Regions from separate parts of the Homo sapiens genome. Here region 1 is linked to region 2. Evidence: promoter capture Hi-C in 16 types of primary human blood cells and fetal thymus (Javierre and others, 2016). All regions are on one chromosome and are shown on one strand. Each heading gives the region's core, a stretch centred on a gene start or on the middle of the fragment in contact. The rest is flanking DNA. Distances are from core to core; before and after follow the strand shown. Region 1 overlaps IPO5 (importin 5). Region 2 holds the start of DNAJC3 (DnaJ heat shock protein family (Hsp40) member C3).

Region 1 (6,436 bases), core at 539-3,038, 2.3 Mb before region 2:
GTTATAATCTGTAACTACACCAATGTAAGCTGATGGCATTATTATTTTTGTTAATAATTAACCTGGTACAATGAAAAAGAATGCTGGCTTTGTTTTCTCATCTGTAAAATTGGAATGATAGTTCTTCATAGGAGTGTTTTGAAAGTTAGGATAATATATGTAAATTCACATAGTATGGTGTCTGCATAAGTAGATACTCAATAATTATCTCTTTTATTAGTAAGATGGATTTGGGAGTTAAATGTGACCTTAAACAAGTAATTACTCTTTTTGTTTGTTTTTTTAGAGATGGGGTCTTGCTATATTGCCCAGGACAGTCTTGAACTCCTGGGCTCAAGCGATCCTCCTACCTCGGCCTCCCAAAGTGCTGGGGTTACAGGCTTGAGCCACCGCGCCTGGCCTTAAACAAGTAATTACTCTTAAGGCTGCAGCTGATGCATAGTCATGTGCATCACATTTGTGTTTATATAAAATCTACTTGCGTATTTTCTATTAGTCTCCCAATTGTGCAGAGTGAAATAGTGTATGGAATGGATTACAGATATTCAATAGACACTTGGCTGATAAGTAAGATTTCTGACTCTAATACTGATGTTTTCTGTTGCCTAGATAAGAGCCAGCAAAAAAAGTTTGAATGGTTGAAAAATTATTGAAAATATGCTGAAATATTCACATTTTTTTCAACTGCTTTTTATCAAAACTTTCAAGTTCCTGCTCTGAAGCAGTCTGTTACATACAGTCAGTGCACCTCAGCCAGGGGCAAGTGGGACCCTAACAATCCTGAAGGACACTGTGCACAATAGGCCCTCAGTAAATTGTGGAATGGAACACAGGCAGGGAAATTTTGACTTGATTGTTTTCTTTTGCGCCCTTTCTTAGTTTTATATTTGAGATTCAGTGGATATCTGCAGATGGAGGGACTCATTTTAGGGAGGCTGGGAGCAGAGGCTCCAGAGCCGGCCAATGTGCAAGTTCAAATGATAGCTTCACAGCCTACATGCTGTGTGATCTTGCCCAAGGTAACCTGTCTCAAGCCCAGTTTCTTCTTCTCTGAAATGGGTGTAATAGAAGTATTTTTTACTACTGATTAAAATACCTGGCAGTAGTGCCGGGCACAGAGTAAATGCTTAATAGATAGTGGCTGTGATTGCTAATACAGATTGCAACCTCTAAAATTTGTAACTTTAATTTTGATTGGACATCTACCTGTTAGACTATTGCATTTTTATATTCTCATTATATAAGTGGTCATGTTACAGGAATGCATCATAATTGTGGTTAAGAAAAAAATCAAGTTTGATTTGATTATCACAGAGCTATTAAAGGCTATTTCTGGCTTTCAATGCTACAGTTGCAATGCTCATTATGGTAGCCACTAGCCATTATGACTGTTGACCAATTGAAATATGGCGTGTTTGAACTGAGGTATGCTTTTTTCTTTTTTTTTGCGACGGAGTCCCACTCTGTCGCCCAGGCTGGAGTGCAGTGGCACGATTTCAGCTCACTGCAACCTCTGCCTCCCGGGTTCAAGCGATTCTCCTGCCTCAGCCCCCCAAGTAGCTGGGATTACAGGCGCCCGCCACCATGCCCGGCTAATTTTTTTTTATTTTTAGTAGAGACGGGGTTTCACCATCTTGGCCAGGCTTGTCTCGAACTCCTGACCTCGTGATCCACCCGCCTCGGCCTCCCAAAGTGCTGGGATTACAGGCGTGAGCCACTGAGCCTGGCCTGAGATATATTTTAAGTGTAAAATACACAGTAAATTTCAAAGACTTAGTAGGAAATTAAGAATAACAATTTTATATTGGTCACATGTAGAAATGTTAATATATTGTGTTAAATAAAATAGTTATATTTATTGATAAACTATTGTTAAATGTATTAATTTCACTTTTTTTTACTTGTTAAAAATATGGCTACTAGAAATTTTAAAATTGCATATGTGATTTGTATTTGTGGCTCATATTATATTTCGATTGGGCAGTGCTTTGCTGGAGAATAAAATAGCCAACTAGCTACACATAGGTGTCCTACATACTTTGTACATTGACATTTAGGAAGTGACTTTTGGCTGGGTGTGATGGCTCACGCCTGTAATCCCAGCACTTTGGGAGGCTGAGGTGGGAGGATTGCCTGAGACCAGGAGTTCGAGACCAGCCTGGGCAACATGGCGAGACCTTGTCTCTTTTAAAAAAAACAAAACAGGAAGTGACTTTTCCCCAGGTGAAATCAGTTACCTTATTGTGTTTTCTGTTGCTTCTAGTTTTCCAACTTGATCCTCAGGCATTTGAAGACATGCTGCAGTACTTTCTGAGCAGTGTTCCCTTAGGAATTTCTTTCCTCTGCTGATTTGACAGAAACAGAATGGTGGACCATTAGATGGTACTTAATTTTGAAGATGATATTCTTAAAAATCACATCTGATTTTGAAGAATAAATCCTTATCAGTTAAATCAAAGACTGGTTAAGAGTTGGAGAAAATAAAAATACCTTTTCTTGATGTTGTTTTCATTTAAAAGTGGTAAATGGATTTTTAAAAATCATTTGTTGCATTTTAATACCTGAAATAAAAATATACTTAGCAGAGGCCGGGTGCAGTGGCTCACGCCTATAATCCCAGCACTTTGGGAGGCCAAGGCAGGCGGATCACGAGGTCAGGAGATGGAGACCATCCTGGCTAACACGGTAAAACCCCGTCTCTACTAAAAATACAAAAAAATTAGCTGGGCGTGGTGGTGGGCACCTGTAGTCCCAGCTACTCGGGAGGCTGAAGCAGGAGAATGGTGTGAACCTGGGAGGCAGAGCTTGCGGTGAGCTGAGATCGCGCCACTGCTCACCAGCCTGGGTGACAGAGCGAGACTACGTATCAAAAAAAAAAAAAAAAAAAAAAAATATATATATATATATATATATACTTAGCAGAAAGATTTCATTTCTAAGTTAAATGATTTTTCTTAGAACACAAATAGGTTGAAAGTAAAAGGATAGAAAAAGACACACCATGCAAACAGTATTCAAAAGCAGATACGCAGCCTGGCCAACATAGAGAAAACCCGTTTTTACTAAAAATACAAACTTTAGCTAGGCGTAGTGGCAGGCGCCTGTAATCCCAGCACTTTGGGAGGCCAGGGTGGGTGGATCACTTGAGGTCGGGAGTTCAAGACCAGCCTGGCAAACATGGTGAAACCCCGTCTCTACTAAAAATACAAATGTTAGCTGGGTGTAGTGGCAGGCGGCTGTACTCTGTTACCTGGGAGGCTGAGATACGAGAACTGTTTGAACCTGGGAGGCAGAGGCTGTAATGAGCCGAGATGGTGCCACTGCACTCCAGCCTGGGTGACGGAGCAAGACTCCATCTCAAAAAGACAAAAAAACAAAAGCAGGTGGAATGGCTCTCTTAATTTTAGACAAAATAGATTTTAAGACAAAAAATGTCATTAGAGATAAAGAGGACATTTTTATAATAAAAAATTCAATCAGGAAGATAGAACAGTTTTAAACACATGTGCCTAACAGCACCAAAATACATAAAGCAAAACCTGACAGAATTAAGGGAGAAATAGATAATTCAACAAAAATAGTTTGAGACTTCTGTTCCCACCTTTCAGTAACGGATAGGATAACTAGATAGATCAATAATAAATGGAAGACAAAGAATAAGATAAACCAACTACACCTACAAGACAAGTGTAAGACACTCCACCCAAAAGCAGCAGAGTAAACATTTTCCTCAAGTGAATATGGAACATTCTCCAGGATAGACCATATGTTAGGCTGTAAAACAAGCTTCAGTCAATTTTAAAGGATTGAAACCAACAAAGTATGTTCTCTGACCACAACAGAATAAAATTAGAAATCAAGAACAAAAGGAAATTTGAGAAATTCACAAGAGATTAAACTGCATACTCCTAAATAACAAGTGCGTCAAAGAAGAAATCACAAGATGGCTTGGCACGGTGCCTCATGTCTCTAATCACAGTGCTTTGGAAGGCTGAGGTGGGAGGATCCTTTGAGCCCAGGAATTCAAAGTTACAGTGAGCAATGATCGCACCACTGCATTCCAACCTGGGTGACAGACAGAGTGAGACCCCTTCTCTATATTGAAAAAAATCACAAGAGAAATTAGAAAATACTTTGAGCCGGGTGCGGTGGCTCATGCCTGTAATCCCAGCATATTGGGAGGCCGAGGTGGGCGGATCACAAGGTCAGGAGATCAAGACCATCCTGGCTAACATGGTGAAACGCCGTCTCTGCTAAAAATACAAAAAATTAGCCGGGCGTGGTGGTGGGCACCTGTAGTCCCAGCTACTTGGGAGGCTGAGGCAGGAGAATGGCATGAACCCGGGAGGCGGAGCTTGCAGTGAGCTGAGATCGAGCCACTGCACTCCAGCCTGGGCGACAGAGCGAGACTCAAACAAACAAACAAACAAACAAACAGAAAATACTTTCAGATGAATGAAAACAAAAATATAAGATACCAAAATTTATGGGATAGCAGTGATAGCAATGCTCATAGGGACACTTAGAGCTGTCCTTATCAATTAGAAAAGAAGAAATCAATAACCTACTTCCTTAGATACTAAAGAAAGAAGGGCAAACTAAATCCACAACAAGCTGAAAGAAAGAAAGCAAGAAAGAAAGAGAAAGGAAGAAAAAGAGAAAGAAGACTAAAAGGAAATAAATGAAATAGAAAATTAAAAAAGAGAAAATAAAAATAACCCAAAATTGTTTCTTTGAGAAGATCAACAAAATTCACAAACTTTTGGCTGTACTGACCAGGAAAAAAAAGAGGAGACTCAAATACTAAAATCAGGAATGAAAGAGGAGACATCACTACCCAGCTTTCAGAAATAAAAAGAATTAGAATACTGTACCCAATTGTGTGCTAACAAATTAGATAACCTAGAGGAAATGGACACATTTCTAGAAAAACGCAAATCAAAAGTGATTCACGAAGAAATAGAAAATATGAATAGATCTACAGCAAGTAAAACTATTGAATTAGTTATTTTATTTTATTTTATTATTTTTTGAGACAGAGTCTTGCTCTGTCACCCAGGCTGGAGTGCAGTGGCGTGATCTTAGCTCACTGCAACCTCCGCCTCCCTGGTTCAAGCAATTCTCCTGCCTCAGCCTCCCAAGTAGCTGGGACTATAGGCACACACCACCACACCCGGCTAATTTTTGTGTTTTTAGTAGAGATGTGGTTTCACTGTAGTCAGGTTGGTCTTGAACTCCTGACCTCAAGTGATCCACCTCCCTCGGCCTCTCAAAGTGCTTTGACTACAGGCGTGAGCCACTGCGCCCAGCTGAATTAGTAATTTTAAAAGTCACAAAGAAAAATCCCAGACCAGATGACTTTACTGGTGAATTTTACCAAACATTTAAAAAGCAATTAACACCATTCCTACTCAAACTTTGTCAGAAAATAGAAGCAGAGTGAACACGTAATGAATCATTTTATAAGGCCAGTTGTGCCCTGCTGCCAAAAACAAAAAAAACTATAGACCAATATCGACACAAAAATTATAAACAAAATACTAGCAAACTGAATTAAACAACATATAGAGAGGATTATCTACCATGATTAAGTGAAATTTATCCCAGGAATGAAAGGTTGGCATAACATATGAAAATCAATGTAATATACCATATTAATAAAGCGTAAAAACTATATGAGCATCTCAATTGATGCAGGATAAGCTTTTCACAGAATCCAATCCCTTTTCATTATTAAAACGCTCAACAAACTAGGAATAAAGAGGAATTTCCTCAACTTCATAAAAGCCATCTGTGACAGACTCACAGTTAACATCATATTTAGTTGAGAAAAATTGGATGTTTTCTCCCTGAGATCAAGACAAGAATGTCTATTGTCACCATTTTTACTCAATATTTTACTGGAAGTTCTATTTTTTTTTTTTTTTTTTTTTTGAGAGGGGGCCTTGCTCTGTCACCCAGGCTGGAGTGCAGATCTCGGCTTACTGCAACTTCCATCTCCCTGGTTCAAGCGATTCTCCTGCCTCAGCCTCCTGAGTAGCTGGGATTAAGGCACAAGCCACCACACCCAGCTAATTTTTGTATTTTTAGTAGAGATGGGGTTTCACCATGTTGGCCAGGCTGGTTTTGATCTCTGTCATGATCTCATGATCCGCCTGCCTCGGCCGCCCCAAAGTGCTGGGATTACAGGCGTGAGCCACCGTGCCCGGCCTGGAAATTCTATCTCTATTCACAAGTGACATGATTTCGTATAGACAAAATCCTAAGGAATTCACACAAGCACACACACACACACACACACACACACACACAAACTATTAGAACAAACAAAACAAGTTCAGCAAGGTTGCAGGAGACAAGATCAATATATAAAAATCAATTGTAATTCCATACACTAGCAATAAACAATCTGAAAATGAAATTAAGAACACAGTTT
Region 2 (6,253 bases), core at 2,725-5,224:
TCACAAATGCATGTCTTAAACCCTAAGTGGTCTGTAAACTCAAAAGCAAAAGCCATGAGTTCTATGCTACGTATATATACCTCACCAAAGAGCAATATAGTTAGTAAAAGCCTTTGCTGACTGATTAAATGAGTCTTCTCCATATTCCAGAACTCCAAATGATACAAACTCATCAGATTTAATTTTTTTAAGTAGCTTTCTAAAGATATGGAAAGAAAAATAAATCTATGGTTGAAATGTTTGCGTTCTGAAGAGCAGGTGAATGGGTTCCCATGATACTTCCATATAAACAAAGATTAACTGCAGGACACTAATCAAAAGAGACCACAGCAGTAGAAATTAAACTTAACAACAATTAATTAACTTCATATGGGAAAATAAAACCTAATTACTACAGTGCATCCCCTCCCAGAACAACTTCCCCTACCTCACAGAATGAAAACCACTGCATTTCCAGGCAGTTTCTCAGCAAATACTAACTATGTCAAGAGAACTGGAACTTTGATACTACTGCTAACTACAGCCTATCTTATTAAAGAATTTAAAATAATTCTAGAAAATATGTGACCACCTTTTATGATACTTAATTTATTTAAATTACTTAAAGTCACTCATTTTTGCTACTTTATTCTTTCCCTATTTAGATAATGTCAAGAAAATCCTAGAAAAGACAAAACATACCTTTAATAGGTTAGGTTCAAATAAAACTTATCATGGTTCAAATAAAACTTATCACAATATTTTATACGTATAGATTTTCAACTATATATTTTCAACTATTCTTTTCCCCATGGCCAAAATATATGGTTTAATCAGCTCAATGAAATAAAGAAAAATTGGGTCCAGATAGCATGTTAAGGAAGAAAAAGAGATAAAACTATGATAAGAGAAAAAAGGTTTCGTTCCCAGGCTGTGTTGCTACTCAAGTCACCAAGAGGACAAACCATTAGCAAAGAAATGAAATAACTTCCTTATCTGTAACATGAGAATACTAAAGCAGATACTACTAAAGTTTTCTTTCTATTCCAAAAATTCGATCTCATCTAGTGCTTTAGACTTCACTCTTTCAAACGCCTTTGAGAAGGGAGGGTGCCAAAAGACTCAAACTTTCAATTCATGATATATACTTTCTGTCTCTGGATGACAATTAACAGAAAAATCTAGAAGAAAACAAAGGCAAATATTTCAAAATCAGAAAAACACTAGGTTATCTCTTCCCCATCCTGTGCCACTCTTAGTTCCACATTCACTTCTCTCATAACCATTCTCCTTCATTTCTTTTTTTAAAAGTGAATTGTATTGTATATATTTGATGTTTACAACATAGTATTATGAGATATACACACATAAAATGGTTACAATAGTGAAGCAGATTAATAAGAGTGAAGCAGATTAATATATCTATCATCTCACATAATTACTTTTTGTGTGACAAGAGCAGCTAAAACCTACCTATTTAACAAAAATCCTTAATACAACACAATTTTATTAAGCCTCAGGCCTAGCAGTAGCACCATTTGCCTTTCAGAGAACTATGAGATTAGTGAATCCAGACACAATTTATTTGGGAAAACAGGGGCTAACGGTTTGCTAATTCAAGTCAGAGTTCTTACCTTTATATCCCTATCACCAAATCCAGTGTCAAATACATAGCAGACACCTAATTTAACTCCTCTATATAATTTATTACACCAGTGGTTCTCAAGTGTGGTCATCCAGGGTCTTTCTAGAAACGCAAAATTTCAGGTCCCATCAAGACCTAATGAATCAAACTCTGTAAGTGGGGTACAGCACTCTGTTTTAAAAAGCCCTCCATGTGCGATTCTGATGCACACTCAAGTTTGAGAACCACTGTATTAAACCTCCCAGGAAATAACCTTCTTGTTAATTACAAAAAAAAAAAAAAAAAAAAAGTGCTGATTTTTTTTCTCAGCTGCCATCACTTAAAAGTGCTTGGACTCACATGATGTTGTCAACTACTTAACTTCTGTCTCCAGCGTGCACACAAAATGAACTTTAGTAAAACCTTTGGAGCCTCAGTTCCCTGGTCTGTAAAGTAGGAATGAATACCACACGCTTTCGTGAATAAGATATGGCTTACAGAAAGGCTCCTTTCTTTCCTTTTTCTGTTACCTGTACTAAGTCCCTGCTATTTTACACAGACAATGGTCCTAAAGAAGACACTCTGGCACTCCTCTGAGAAATGTCACCAGTGCCTCCTACACAGAAAAGCTCTCAAATGTGGTTTTCTTATGGAAAATACCACAGGAGGGAAATGAAGAGTTAAGAGTCCTTACAGACTCATATACAGAACAGCAATTCTAAAAAGTAGTGGGAAAAGCAATCATTCAAAATTGTGCATCTCTGTAACTTAAAAAAAAAAATCACCATTAAACAGAACATAGGCAACTTTCTCTTAAGTGTCCAAAATAAATTATTAATGATAACTGGAGATAAATACTACAGATGAGGGATGGTGGGGTGCGGGGGCAGGAGGAATGAAGCTTTTGAAAATGCAAAAGAACTAGAATATATGACCCATATTAAAGTGGTACAGACCTTCAAATTCCAATCCCCTAGATTTTTCTGGGGGCAGCCTCACTGTCAAATTCTTTGTCCCAATGTTGCCACACTACGTGTTCTGATTTGGGGTTCAAAAAATATGGTTACCAGGGGAAGCAAAAGCAAAAGCCCATTGCTATGGGTGACACCTAAAAACTGGGGAGTACTACTTTAAAAAAAAAAGTTGAGAACTTTCAGAAGAATTCACTATAAACAATTCCCAATTTTTAGTTCCTCGCTCCCTTTGAATGGAATACTCAAAGGTTTAATTTGACCTCCTTGACAACTAGCCCTTTTTATGGGGATGAAAATAGATCAGTGCATGTGATGTGTCATTACACTCGAATATTTCGCACAGTAACCGCGCCAGAAGCATTCGTTAAATCGGCACTATCAACTTTAATTCTTACTCCTCCCCGCTGCCATCTAAGATAGGACAGCCCTCTATTTTCGCTATTCTGGAGTAGCCAACATTCCAGTCTGCAGGACTGAAGTGAAATTTAATCGTTCGTATCTTTTTAAGGGAACCTTTTTACAGCGAACTTGGAAAAGTAATGCCAGCCATACGTTGAATGACACCATGTTGGGAGTTGTAAAACCACAAACTCAGTGCCTGGCCGTCCGGGAGATGGAATTCCAACAGCGGCTCCTCATTGCACCAAACTAACAATTTCTCTACACGACAGTGCATCTTAATGGGGATGGTTACACACTTTTTAAATAGTCAACACTGTCCCCTCCAACTCCCAGCCGGACATGACACTCCTTCCCCACCCAAGAACTCCAGAGCGAAGGAAGTCTTTTGGCCACCTTAGTGCCTCCTCCCAGCCAGCACCAATGACTGACAGTGTCCCCAGGCGCCCAGCGAGGGTCCCAAGCGAGGCCAGGACCCAAAGGCTGCCCAAGTCTCCGCGTCCCAGGACTTCCTGAAGTCGTAGCCCGGTGCCCCCGCACCCCGCCTCCTCCGACTCCTGCGGCCCGGTTCCTTAGTCCAAACCCGCTGTCCCGGCCCCGCGGCCCGCCAGTCCCCTCGATTCTTCCCCAGACAAACCCGGAACCGGGCGCGGGCTCAGGCCCAAGCCAGGCCGCGGGCTCCCCCAGCGCTCGCCCCACCTCCCGAGCCGCTCCGGGACAGGCGCCCGGGCGCAGACGGGAAAGCGCGGGGGGCCTGGTCCGGGAGCCCACTTCCTGGCCGGGGCAGGGCAGGACTCACCTTCGTACTGCAGATCCACCAGGACTAGCAGGAAGGGGAATACCGAGCCCAGCCGGCTGGTCACGGAGCCGGGGGCCACCATGTCCGAGGGCTCGCGAGTGAAGAGGAGGAAAGGTGTGTGGCCCACCAGCACGCGCCGGCGCTCCGGCAGCAGCTGCGCCCGCCCGCCGTCGGCTCTCGCTCAGGCCTCAGTGGCTCTGGAGCCCAGCAGAGGAAGGCAGCGGTGGGCGGGGCCCGGGCGACGCTACGCCCCAGAGCGCCGCCGCCATCCAATCGCCTTCTTTCTGGCGGCTTTCCTCCCGGGCTCGCCGGGGTCGTGGTTCGCGCTGATAGGCTGCGGAGGCCGCCGCCCCGCCCCGTCCCTGATAGGATAACGTGGAAGCACGAGACGAGGCTGCGCCCGCCGGTCGCAGAGCTGTCAGCAAGCTCCAAACCGCGGCTGCCGCCCGGAGGGAAGCAGACGGGGAGTCGGTGGCGGCCGCCGAGTCCGCATGCGCAGGCTGCAAAGGCCCTTTTGGGCCGGTCCCGCCGCGCTAGGTTGGCGAGTGGGACTATTTGATCCTTTCCAGGTTCGCCAGCGTGGTGTTACGAGAGGAAAGCGCAGCCGCAGCGTACGAATGGGAAGGCCAAACACGGTCCCGGGGAGTCTGAGGGAAGCTGCAGGGCGCCTGGAATTGGGGTCTCGAGTGAGCCGGTAAAAACCGCCTCCCGCTGAGCGTCCCGGAACAAATACTGTCTGAACTGAGCCGTAAGCAAGAAACGGTCAGGAGAAGCTGGGGCGATCTGATGATTAGAACATTTCAGGGACTACCAGAGAGAAGTGCGTAATTGCTCTAAGGCAGGTAGGTAATTGGCCTGGAAACTTGGGAACGCCCCGCCCCCCACCCCGACTTTCAGCAAACCACCGTGCCCAGGAAAAAGAGCGATTGTGGAAGACCCTGTGAAGAAGAGACCAGGAAGGCACTGTGGCTTAAGAGAGCAAGGCGTTCCTGAATGCAGCCAACATCAACTGGTAAACAAAAAACTGTGAGAACGGATCCTGAATCTTGCGCTTACCAGGGGAAATTCAGGAGAGATATGAACCTGAGCAAGATGAGGTTGAAGTTACTCAATGCGGCATTAAGCCTGTTCACGGCCACTTCCTCCGGCGTCACCAACACACACACTGTACACCAGCAGTATTTTTACACGGGGTATGTGTGTTAAGTACTATCAGGTGGATAATTATTACTTCACCTGTATTTGCTGCCTTGATACCATTAGAGAAACTCATGAATTATAAATAGCATAGTGAATTTGTGATTCCCTGAAGATATACTAAGGTGGACTTTTAAAAAGGCTTCTATTCCAAAGGGAACTAATATGGAGGAAATGGTTTCGAGAAAGAAAAAAGAAAAAACGGAGTCCTTGATTAGTTGTGGGGAAGGCAACATAATGTAATGTGAAGAATAAAGGAGTCAGATCCAGGAAACCCCATAACTATTATGTAAGTTATCTTCATCTGTAAAGTGGTTAGGATCCTGATAGTCTCAAAGGTTTGTTTTGAGGTTTCATGAAGCAGATAAATATTCTTGTAAATTGTAGAATGTTATACCAGTGTTACTCATTATTCTAACAAGAGCAGAGTAGTGAAGAGAGGCTCCTTCAGAAATTCCTTGGGATTTTTTTTTTTTTGGCTTCTGTTTTTTTATATCACAAGGTAGTGTCTCTGAAAAATGGTAGATGATTTCAATGTCCACAAATATGCAGGTGTAGACATTCAATTGAGGTACTGTACCCAAGGCAGCCAGCAAAATGCTGAACATAGAAAATAACTTTGTAAACAAAATGCAATATTTCTAGACAGTGAGTTATCACCAGTGTGCTGCCTATGACCCTGGCCTTAAGGAAAAAGTAGCAGAGCTGAAGAAGTTCTAAGGATGGAAATTAAAAATTATTAAGGAGATAATAGACTTCGTGTTATAGGAAATAAAAATAGCAAGGGTCTTCAATGGTGAGTGATTTTGAGATTAATTACATAACTATGAATTCTGTAATATTAGAACTAAGCTTTACAAAGCATTCCTTAAAAAAAGATAATTTTACAACAAAGGTAACATTAGACAGAAAAAAATGTACAAAACTAAAATTAAGTGATTAATGCTTGGGAATGTTTCCTCCAATGTTCATCTAGTCATGGTTTTCACGAATCACTCTTGCCAATAAAACCGAAAATCAAAGTAATCTAGTGAGTGTAAGAAAAGTTACTGTAAATATGTTTGCATTCGTCAGACTCTATGGAGTCTTTTTGAAGTTAAACATTAAATCTCCACTGTAATTCATACTGTTAATTATAGTAGCAAAAGACTTAAAAAACAATGGTAGCATATTTATGATATATCCAAAATTAAGAGTATTATGCAATTTTTATTAGGTTGATCTATGTTTATTGACTAGGAAAAACAATGTTGGTAGAGAGGAGTGAACAGATCTAGAACA

Evidence for each region. The method cuts DNA at HindIII sites, captures the fragments that hold promoters and counts their contacts. A CHiCAGO score of 5 or more calls a contact.
Region 1: a fragment that was not itself captured here is called in contact with the fragment with the promoter of DNAJC3 in region 2 in 1 of 17 cell types (total B cells); the score reaches 5.2 in total B cells.

Annotation. Positions count from the first base shown.
Region 1 is chr13:97,965,632-97,972,067 of GRCh38, reverse strand. It overlaps IPO5 (importin 5), which reads right to left. Exons shown (of 29, transcript NM_002271.6): 3 at 2,238-2,345. Among named protein-coding and RNA genes, the nearest start is that of IPO5, 15 kb to the right of the region's middle. The HindIII fragment of the contact is 4,000 bases long and covers 1-3,788 here.
Region 2 is chr13:95,674,860-95,681,112 of GRCh38, reverse strand. It overlaps DNAJC3 (DnaJ heat shock protein family (Hsp40) member C3), which reads right to left and starts at 3,974. Exons shown (of 12, transcript NM_006260.5): 1 at 3,776-3,974. The coding sequence starts at 3,857. DNAJC3-DT (DNAJC3 divergent transcript) reads left to right here and starts at 4,188. Exons shown (of 2, transcript NR_132117.1): 1 at 4,188-5,261. RefSeq lists silencers at 3,594-3,683, 3,914-4,153 and enhancers at 3,794-3,843, 3,190-4,036, 4,674-4,773, 4,037-4,884. The HindIII fragment of the contact is 3,320 bases long and covers 2,507-5,826 here.